2 separate regions of the Homo sapiens genome follow, and region 2 is linked to region 1. The links are contacts of gene promoters, found by promoter capture Hi-C in blood cells and fetal thymus (Javierre and others, 2016). All regions are on one chromosome and are shown on one strand. Each heading gives the region's core, a stretch centred on a gene start or on the middle of the fragment in contact. The rest is flanking DNA. Distances are from core to core; before and after follow the strand shown.

Region 1 (4,712 bases), core at 2,213-4,712:
CTGGGCTTAAGCCCCTTTCTCCTTTGCTTTCTGAGCAAAAGTACTACTGGCCTCCAGCAGCTGAAAAAGCCCTTAAGAAACTGAAGCATTACTTGTCTTTGGCTCTAGTCCTGGCTCACTCTAACCCATAAAAACCTTTAAAGACAGAGACCAATCTGTCTAGCATTCCTATCGGTCCCAGGAAGATTCTCTGTCACTCATGTGTGCCTGCTTTTCAAGAAAAGGAACCCAATTAAAGACAGGTAACTTCATGTGGCAAAAGATATTCTTGGCCATTATCACTACCTTTTTTGTCTTATATTCAATAACTAAAGTAGTATGGTGATTTCAACTTCTGAGTTATTTATAAACCTAGAAACCAGAATTGTCCTACTAGCAAGTAACTTGTCTCTTAGAAGCTGAAATTGCTGACCATGCCACTTGTATTCCAAGTGATTCTGTGTTCCCTGAAAGGCTACAAAGACAGGCTTGAACCTCACCTTTCTCATCTGTTAATAATAACAAAACCACTTGTGTGGTCAGAGCTGCCACATCAACCCTGATAGGCTACCGGAAAACACTTCATTATCAATGCCCTGCTGCACATGCATTCCCATGTACAGCAGCCTCTCATTGGAAAAGAACACACATTTCAATCATGCCTTGATGCCCTCCCCAACCAATGAGGTATTGCAGGTTGTAAAGATCCGCCCCAACCCACTACTGCCATCAGCCCTGCTGATGGCCCAAGATTCACCATGTGTAATGCAATAAAGACATCATTATCTGTGTTGCCTGTGCTAGATCAAAAGACCAGCTTGGGAGACTGACACTCTTCTATCTCTACAGCTAAGCCTGTGTATCCTGGCAATTATACTAATGGCTTTATCAATGACCTTTCCCAAATTAGTACGTTAACCCCATTCTTATCACAGTGGCCTTCCTCCTGAATAGAGCTCATGATGCCCTACTTATCTGCCTGTCTCAAGCTCTAAACTTCATTCCTCCAAACGTGTTTTCCAAAACGGAGTCTTGCTCTATCACCTAGGCTGGAGTGCAGTGGCACGATCTCGGCTGACCGCAACCTCTGCCTCCTGGGTTTAAGCAATTCTCCTGCCTCAGCCTCCGGAGTAGTTGGGATTACAAGCGCGTGCCACCACACCCAGCTAATTTTTGTATTTTTAGTAGAGATGGGGTTTCACCATGTTGGCCAGGCTGGTCTCAAGCTCCTGACCTCGTGATCCCCCCGCCTCCGCCTCCCAAAGTGCTGGGATTACAGACGTGAGCCACCGTGCCTGGCCCTAGAGGGAACTCTTAAAGCAGTGGCTCTCAACCTTTGTTGCAAAATGGAGGGTTTTAAGAAAGTACTGATGTCTGGGCTCCACTCGCAGAGATTCTGATTTAATTGGTATAGAGAAAAGCCAGGGCATTAGGATTTTTTTAAGCTCCCAAGGTGATTCTAATGTGTGGGCATGGTAGAGTACCTGTCTTTTTTTTTTTTTTTTTTTTTTTTTTTTGAGACGGAGTCTCGCTCTGTCGCCCAGGCTGGAGTGCAGTGGCGTGATCTCGGTTCACTGCAAGCTCTGCCTCCCGGGTTCACGCCATTCTCCTGCCTCAGCCTCTGGAGTAGCTGGGTCTACAGGTGCCCACCACCACGCCCGGCTAATTTTTTGTATTTTTTTTTTTTTAGTAGAGACGGGGTTTCACCGTATTTGCCAGGATGGTCTCGATCTCCTGACGTTGTGATCCGACCGCCTCAGCCTCCCAAAGTGCTGAGATTACAGGCGTGAGCTACCGCGCCTGACCCGGTAGAGTACCTGTCTTAAAGCTCCCTAAATACAGACGGACCTACGATGCACAGAGCATCCACAATTCAACTGATAGGTGGCATGTACTTTACACTAAGTTCTATGCTACCTCATTTTGTCATTACAATAATCCTATGGCACAGGCACTATTATCCTTATTTTATAAATTGAGAAACTGAGATTCAGACAGGACACACAGAGTGACTGGCAGACCCTAAAGTCAAAGCCCAGGTCTGATTCCCAATTGTACACACTTTATATGACATCATATCGAGATGTCATGCCTCTCAGAGCTGGATGATCCCACTCCCTAAAACAAGACACCCAGGCTTCAACCCTGAAATCCTATTCCATTGCCTCCATGGATTTTTCCTGCAGCATTTTCCTATGCACTTCACACATACAGCGCAGCTGCCAGGATATACTTTAGGCTGCCAAAATGAAATGAAGTCACTTTCTTGGTAAGTGATTACCATGCCTGGCTCTTTACTGAAGTACTTCCATTCTATATATTCACACTGGGATCCTTCTCCATCACTGCTAGCTTCAATCCTGTGGCTTTCCATATTTAGTTTTTCTTACAGATGAAGTGATACTCTTTACCTATCAGCCATTCCTTTGTTGGAGTAAAATTACGTATTCCATCAGCATTCTTCTGCCTTGTACTCCAGATAGTATACAAAGAATCAAATTATAGTAGCTAAGTGGCATAGAATTGCTGCCGATATCAAGATGGACTCTAATATCTAGTGAACTGGGAGGCTAGAGGCTAGAAGTATGTACTTCTGTAAGGTGTCAGTGACACATCTGAGTAATGTGGTAGCTAAATGCCACCATTTCATTCCATGAAATCCACATTTCATTCTGGCTAAAGGGTAAAGCTGGTGAGAGGTGGGAGGGGCCAGGAGGCTCCATCGGAAGGAGGCAGACACTTCAGGTGTTGGGTGGTACCTTTAAGATGTTGCGGGGCCAAATCCAATGCCGGTGCAGGTGTCCCATATATCCTGAGAGACAAAAAGAGGTCAGATTGGTCAGATCCCTCGAGACAGTTCCCAAATTCCTGACTTCTGTTACCGCGACTGTTCTTCGCAATTCCACCTCGGCCTGTGTTCAGGACTGTGGCTTTTAGAATCTTCCTCATTCCATTCCATTAGGGGCGTCCCGATTTCCACCTTATATACACCATGTACTAAATGCATGCCATTTCTGCCTGTTTACAAACATGCATAAGTTCACACTCTTTTAAGAAAAATGTCCTCTACTGTCAACTTCTTTCTAGTCTGGCCTCCCAGGTAGGCTACAGAGCTACTGCCTTCATTTATCTCTCAAATCTTCCCATCTTCTCCTTCCCACTGTATTACCTTAGCTCACACTCACATCCTCTTGGTCACCAGCCAAAAAATAAATAAAACTCCTTTGTCCCTTCAGATTTCTCTCTTATTCTACAACCTCATTAATCGGCTCTCCCGCTCCCACTCCTTTACTACTTCAGTCGCTGAAACCTCCCCTCACAGAGTTCACGGCCAATATAAAAACGGAAAGAAGGGATGACCATACGAGCTTGTGGACTTTTGCCTGCAAAATCTCATAGAATGTGGTGTTGTGTACGTGAATCCATCAGATCAACGCGACGGACACTCCCCAAGGGCCAAATCGGACCGCCTCTCACTAGGCGGAAAGTTTTGAAACTTTTGCGCGCTAAAAATGATGAGCCAGACGCATGCGCAAACGTGCACTCCCGGGGTGGCGCTTCTCCTCAGGCAGATCTCGCGTGGTTTGGTGATGGCCGGCTAGTATGAAGGTTTTCCGTGGCGTTGAGATCCCACCCGCCCTTTTTTTTTTTTTTTTTTTTTTTTTTTTTTTTTTTTGCTGCCCCAGTGGATTAGGATTAGTGCTGCAGTCAAATGAAAAAGATCAAGACAAAAAATTAGGCTAATATAACTAGCCGACAGGCTAGCGGCATTTCTCTGGGGCCGAGGAATTCCACGAAGAAGATCTCTGCGAGGCCCAGAAGGCCGCACAACTACTTCTTCAGAAACAAAATTTTTTAAAAAAGTAAAAATAGAGGAAGTCAGCCAGTTTATCACCTTGGAACCAGCGTTTTGTTTGGCTTTTCCGCTTTTCACTCTACGAAAAAGCCCATTGGCGGCTACCCAGGTTACCGTCCTGTTGCCATTGCGCCTGCGCGGCGGTTTGTTTACCAGTCCAGGCGAAGCGCTGTGTCGCGGTTCTCGCCGCCCCGAGCGCCTTGGTTTGCTCCCTTGACGTGTAATTCGTAATGAAAGTCATGTTTTCATTTGGGAACACGGATCGGAGGTTTAAAACTGGACAGTTTAAGTGTCAACTTCAGACCAAAGAAAATAATGGTAGGGAAAACACTGGACACTCAGAAATCGGTGCCGCGTCAGAGCTGTCACGGAAGATGTTTCTAATGAACCTGAGGAAAACAATAGCACCACCCTAACCAGAACTAAAAAGTGGCAAGCAGCCACAGTTAATGAAACTCATAGGTGGCATTTAGTTACTTATTTAGAATGTAGGCCTAGTTATGGTAAAAATGCAAATAAGACCAAACCTAAGGTCCTCTTGCTCGAGCAAACCTCAAGCAAAACCTACATGATTTAAGACTGACTCTTGAAGCGAAGTAAAAAAAAAAAAAAAAAAAAAAAAGCAGCCATGCAAAATTTGAAACTTGGAGACGACTCTAGAAGCATTAACCCAAGAAAGCACAAGCCAACAAACAAATTTTTGAAATGGTTTGAAGAGCTCTTCAAAGTCAGTTTCAGGTGGCTTAGAAGAGGATGTTGCTTATAAAATGAGATCTGATGGAAACTTGTTTTACAGATATGACTGGATTCGTTTGAAAACAAAAAAAAAGGCAGGCAAAGTGACTTTTTAAAAAGTATTTTTATGGAAGGATTTCTA
Region 2 (4,712 bases), core at 1,150-3,649, 1.1 Mb before region 1:
ACTATGCTGCTCTATTAGTTCTTCCTTACCACTCTTTTCATGAATTATATTGCAATCCTATATTCTATTATTGGCCATCTGGATGAAATTATAAATTATAATAAAAAGAATCCTTGATGAAGGGTCATGCACATTTTTATTTCTGTATCTACTTTAAATGTGTTAATACTATAGAGTTGCAGAAATTTGAAGTAATTTTAAATTGCTCTTATGGACAAAACCCTAAGCCTCCACTACTTTGCAATGATGGAAAAGGCCACAGAGCACTTTGAAAAATCATACTTTTATCCCCATTATCTCAGCCAAATGTGAACTGTGGCAAACATCATGTACCTGCAAGCTTCTCTCCACCTATAAGGCCCCTGTCTTCTTCACATGCTACCCTTTCTACCTGGGTGTGAGCATCAATGGTCTGGAGTCATAACTTCTGGGAGCAGGTCTGCTTTTGATCAACTATACCACTCACAAGATTTTATGTGCTTGGTTCTCTTCAACTATGCAAATAGTAGATCAACTAACAACTGTTCCAGCCATAAAGATGAAATCCTCTTCATTCTTACATTCTCTTATAATTGACAAAGTATTGAAATACTTAGTGATGCTCTACTGCTACTACAATAGCTAGATAGACCTTTTGTTCCATCATTAGTTGATTCCCCTCCATTCTGGGCCTGTTTTCATTAAGTTTTCCTTATATAATATGAGGAAACTGTGAAGCATGATTTCTCAATCTCATTATCAGCACTCTTGACATCTGGGGCTGTAAAATTCTTTGTTATGTAGGGCTGCCCTGTGCATCATAGCATCTCTGATCTCTGCCCACTAGATGCCAGTACCACTCCCCCAACTTCTAGTGTGACAACCAAAAATGTCTCCAGACATTGCCAAATGTCCCCAGGGAGTGAGGGGTAAAATTACCCTCAAACCCCAAATAAAAACCACTGTTGTAAAGAAAACTTAAATGTTATAATGTATATAAAGGGGACTCACAAACTATGCAGTTTAGGAATTATTATATTTTTAATGTTTTTTGTCAATGTGTTGTAGAAGAATATGAGATGAAATATAGGCAAAGAGTGAAAGGTGGTCCTTAGAGTGTATTCCAGTTTACTGTCTGTATGGAAGTTGCCTTATGAGAAAAGGCAGACAATCTCTAAGGATGCCTTAAAAGAGGTTTCTGTAGCTAGTCATGTAACAGTTAAGTTGGCCATGGTACCCACATCATGATTACCTTACAGCTTATTCCTTGGGCAGGGGACTAGCCCCTTTGCTGCTTGCTATAAGAGGTGCTGAGCCTTTAACCCTAGGTTCCCCGCATGTGGCACAACCCACTGTGTGAGTAGCTGCCCATTACCACCCCATGGGACTTTGGGACAGGAGAACCAGAATTACCATGCTGATGTTCCCACTGTGTGCTGTGCTGTCTTGCTTGAGTCTCTTTGTCTATTTTCACACCTCCAAAGTGGCAGCAAGCCAACCTGGTTACTGGCTTAGTCATCTCCTTGGCCTTCTTGTTACTCTTCACCATTCTCTATGAGGGAGGAGTTTCCCCTGATACTGGGTTAAGTTACTTCACTTCCCTTTGTCTTTGTTTCCACATTTTAAAATGGGGATAATAATGATAGTACTTAAATCTTAGTGTTGTTGTGAGGATCATTCAAGCTAATGTAATAGCCTGATAGGTAATTATGTCCAAACTAATGCCATGTTGCTTAGTTCTATTTTCTCCTATATGTCCCTGTGTTAGTCTGTTCCCACATTACTGTAAAGAAATACCTGAGACAGGGCAACTTATAAAGAAAAGAGGTTTAATTGGCTCATGGGTTTGCAGACTGTACAGGAAGCATAGCAGCTTCTGGTTCTGGGGAGGCCTCAGGAAGCTTCCAATCATAGTGGAAGGCAAAAGGGAGTAGGAGTCTCACATGGCAGGAGCAGGAGCAAGAGAGAGTAAGATGGGAGGTTTTACACTTAAATGATCTGATCTCATGAGAACTCACTCACTCACTATTGTGAGGACAGTACTAAGAGGGATGGTGCTACACCATTCGTGAGAAATCCACCTCCACAATCCTATCACTTCCCACCAGTCCCACCTCCAACATTGGGGATTACAATTTGATATGAGATTTGGGTGGGGACAAATATCCAAACTATATCAGTTCCTACCTTCTTAGATTGCCTACTAAACTCCAAATCCTACCTTTCTTTCACAGTGAAATTTACTTTTCTTTGTCATAGACTACATTTCCATTTCACAGTGCACATCATCTCACCATCTTTCTTGCTTTCTCTCTCCCTCAGTCTCCTCTACTCATTAACCTCCATCCTCCTTTGCCGGACAGATTCCTCCCTTTGTCTTTGGTGCAGTTGTTTGCAGACCAAATTTGTTGTAACACGCCCCTAGTATTTCAGTTTTTACTTCAAGGTGATTAAAAGATTTTCATCTAGTCAAGTCCCTCCTACCAATGAAATTCTTGTTAATAAAAGTTTCTTTATCACCTCACATAATTCATTGTTCAATGAATATTTTTGTTCCTATAGTGGGTTAATATTTTGATATTCAACTATGTGATTTTTCTTAATTCCTCTTACTTATCTTTTCTTTCCCCACCATTCAAGGAGTGTTAGGGTTTTAGAAATACAGATACAAAGATGATACAGAGAGAACAATTAAATCTTTAACCTGAAGCTCTTGAGAATAATTCTGTAAAGTCCATAGCAGAGAAAAAGGTCTTAAAAGTCATTGCTTTCCATTATTAGAGCCAGAGACTTAGAGAAACATGTTATTTAAATCCCCAAAGTCAGACTTTAAATATCCAAAGCCAGTCCCCCAGAGGGCCAAGTACATAATATTTATACTAAAACCACGGAAAGAAATATGTGATGTCCTAAGAACCATGTCCTGCTCAGAAGAAGATCAAAGCTTGACCAGCAGGCAGGAAGGTGGGGATTAATGAAGGATGTGCTAAGGGTTCCACCGCTAGTGGGACCCAGTGTTATCACTTCCTCCCCCAAGGGCAACCCTTTGCAGAGAGGCATAATAAGCTCAGATGCATGCATGTGTGGCATTCCGTAGCAAAAAGAACTATTACCTGCCTTTCCAGACAACCCAAGCAACTGTAACCCTCACAGAGGACCCCTGAATCCACCTGGGCAGTAGAACAGTGATGATGAGGGCTGGGACTGTTAACATCAGTTCTTTGGTATGTGGTATTGGAAGGAGGTGGAGCAATGAGTAATTTTTTGTTTGTATGCTCCAAGACTGTTTGGCTTGAAAAAAAGGGTATGATCTAGTCATGCAATATTTTTTAAACAATAAAATAAAAATGTGAAAAGAAAAAAAAAGTGGATGTGAGAAGGGAAAAAAAATCTCGTAAGCTTAGCAGTAAGTTTCAAAAGAAACTCTCTAAAATTTTTATTTAAAAATTAATATTGGTTAGATGCAGTGGCTCACACCTGTAATTCCAACACTTTGGGAGGCTGAGGTAAGAGGATTGCTTGAGACCAGGAGTTTGGGACCAGCCTGGGCAACATAGCAAGACCCTTGTCACTACAAAAAATTAAAAATTAGATAAGCATGGGAGTGCACATCTGTAGTCCCAGCTACTCAGGAGGCTGACTAGGATGACTTGAGCCCAGGAGGTTGAGGTTGCAGTGAGCCATGATTGAACCACTGCACTCCAGACTGGGTGACAGAGCGAGAACCTGTCTCTAAAAAATAAATAAAAATGAATCTCATTTTGAATAATCAGACTTTCACTTCTCTCTTTTCATCTCTTAACTCTGCACCTCTGATTAAAGTGATGAAATTGAGTAAAATGAGAAGAAAAAGGGAGCTTCTTAAAATAAGCCACATTGTGGAATAAACTCAAGAATTAAGATCTGATCTTGCTAGGTTTTGAGTCTTAATTTTCAAGGACCACTTTCAGTTGTGGTTGTGGGAGTTGATCCCCTTTTCTCAACTAATGCCCGTTAACCTGGAAATTTCTCTATTCCTTCATTCTCTTCTGTCCCCACCCCGAAACCACACCCCACATCTCTTTCTATTCCCCATACCATGCACATTCACATGCCCAGAACTTCTTATCTTCTTGTCTTTACCCTAATTTCTTTTTCTTTCTTTCTTTTTTTTTCGAGAAAGAGTCTCACTCTGTAGCCCAGGCTGGAGTATGCAGTGGCTGATCTCAGCTCACTGCAACCTCCACCTCCTAGGTTCAAGCGATTCTCCCACCTCAGCCTCCAGAGTAGCTGGGACTACAGGCGTGTGCTACCACGCCCGGCTACTTTTTGTATTTTTAGTAGAAACTGAGTTTCACCATGTTGGCCAAGCTGGTCTCAAACTCCTGACCTCAAGTGATCTGCTCACCTCGGGCTCCAAAAGTGCTGGCATTACAGGTATGAGCCACCGCGCCCAGCCTTTCCCCTAATTTCTTATTATCCCCTACCTCTAGGCTTCCCCATTCCCCTTTCTCAAGATCTTCTTTTATCCTCAAGACCACATGAGACATCATAACTTCATTGTGAGAGGCATTAATCTACTGGATGGAGCACATGTGGGGAGTATCTGGGGTCTATACCAATTTCCATAGTAACCTTTTTCAGGGAAATCACTTCATCCTTAAAAAATGGGATAAAGGAAAGAAATAAGGCTAACCACCCTGGGCTACATCCAAGAACAGTGCAGAGATATGGAGGGTTCCAGGCTGTGTGAA

What was found. Contacts are between HindIII fragments. The CHiCAGO score rates a contact against its expected background, and 5 or more counts as called.
Region 2: a fragment that was not itself captured here is called in contact with the fragment with the promoter of GPR19 in region 1 in 2 of 17 cell types (endothelial precursors and M2 macrophages); the score reaches 5.8 in endothelial precursors.

The regions. Positions count from the first base shown.
Region 1 is chr12:12,692,721-12,697,432 of GRCh38, forward strand. It overlaps GPR19 (G protein-coupled receptor 19), which reads right to left and starts at 3,463. Exons shown (of 4, transcript NM_006143.3): 1 at 3,345-3,463; 2 at 2,739-2,791. RefSeq lists enhancers at 3,211-3,370, 3,551-3,630. The HindIII fragment of the contact is 8,608 bases long and covers 1-4,712 here.
Region 2 is chr12:11,574,868-11,579,579 of GRCh38, forward strand. No RefSeq gene overlaps it. Among named protein-coding and RNA genes, the nearest start is that of LINC01252, 29 kb to the left of the region's middle. RefSeq lists an enhancer at 4,002-4,201. The HindIII fragment of the contact is 1,043 bases long and covers 1,879-2,921 here.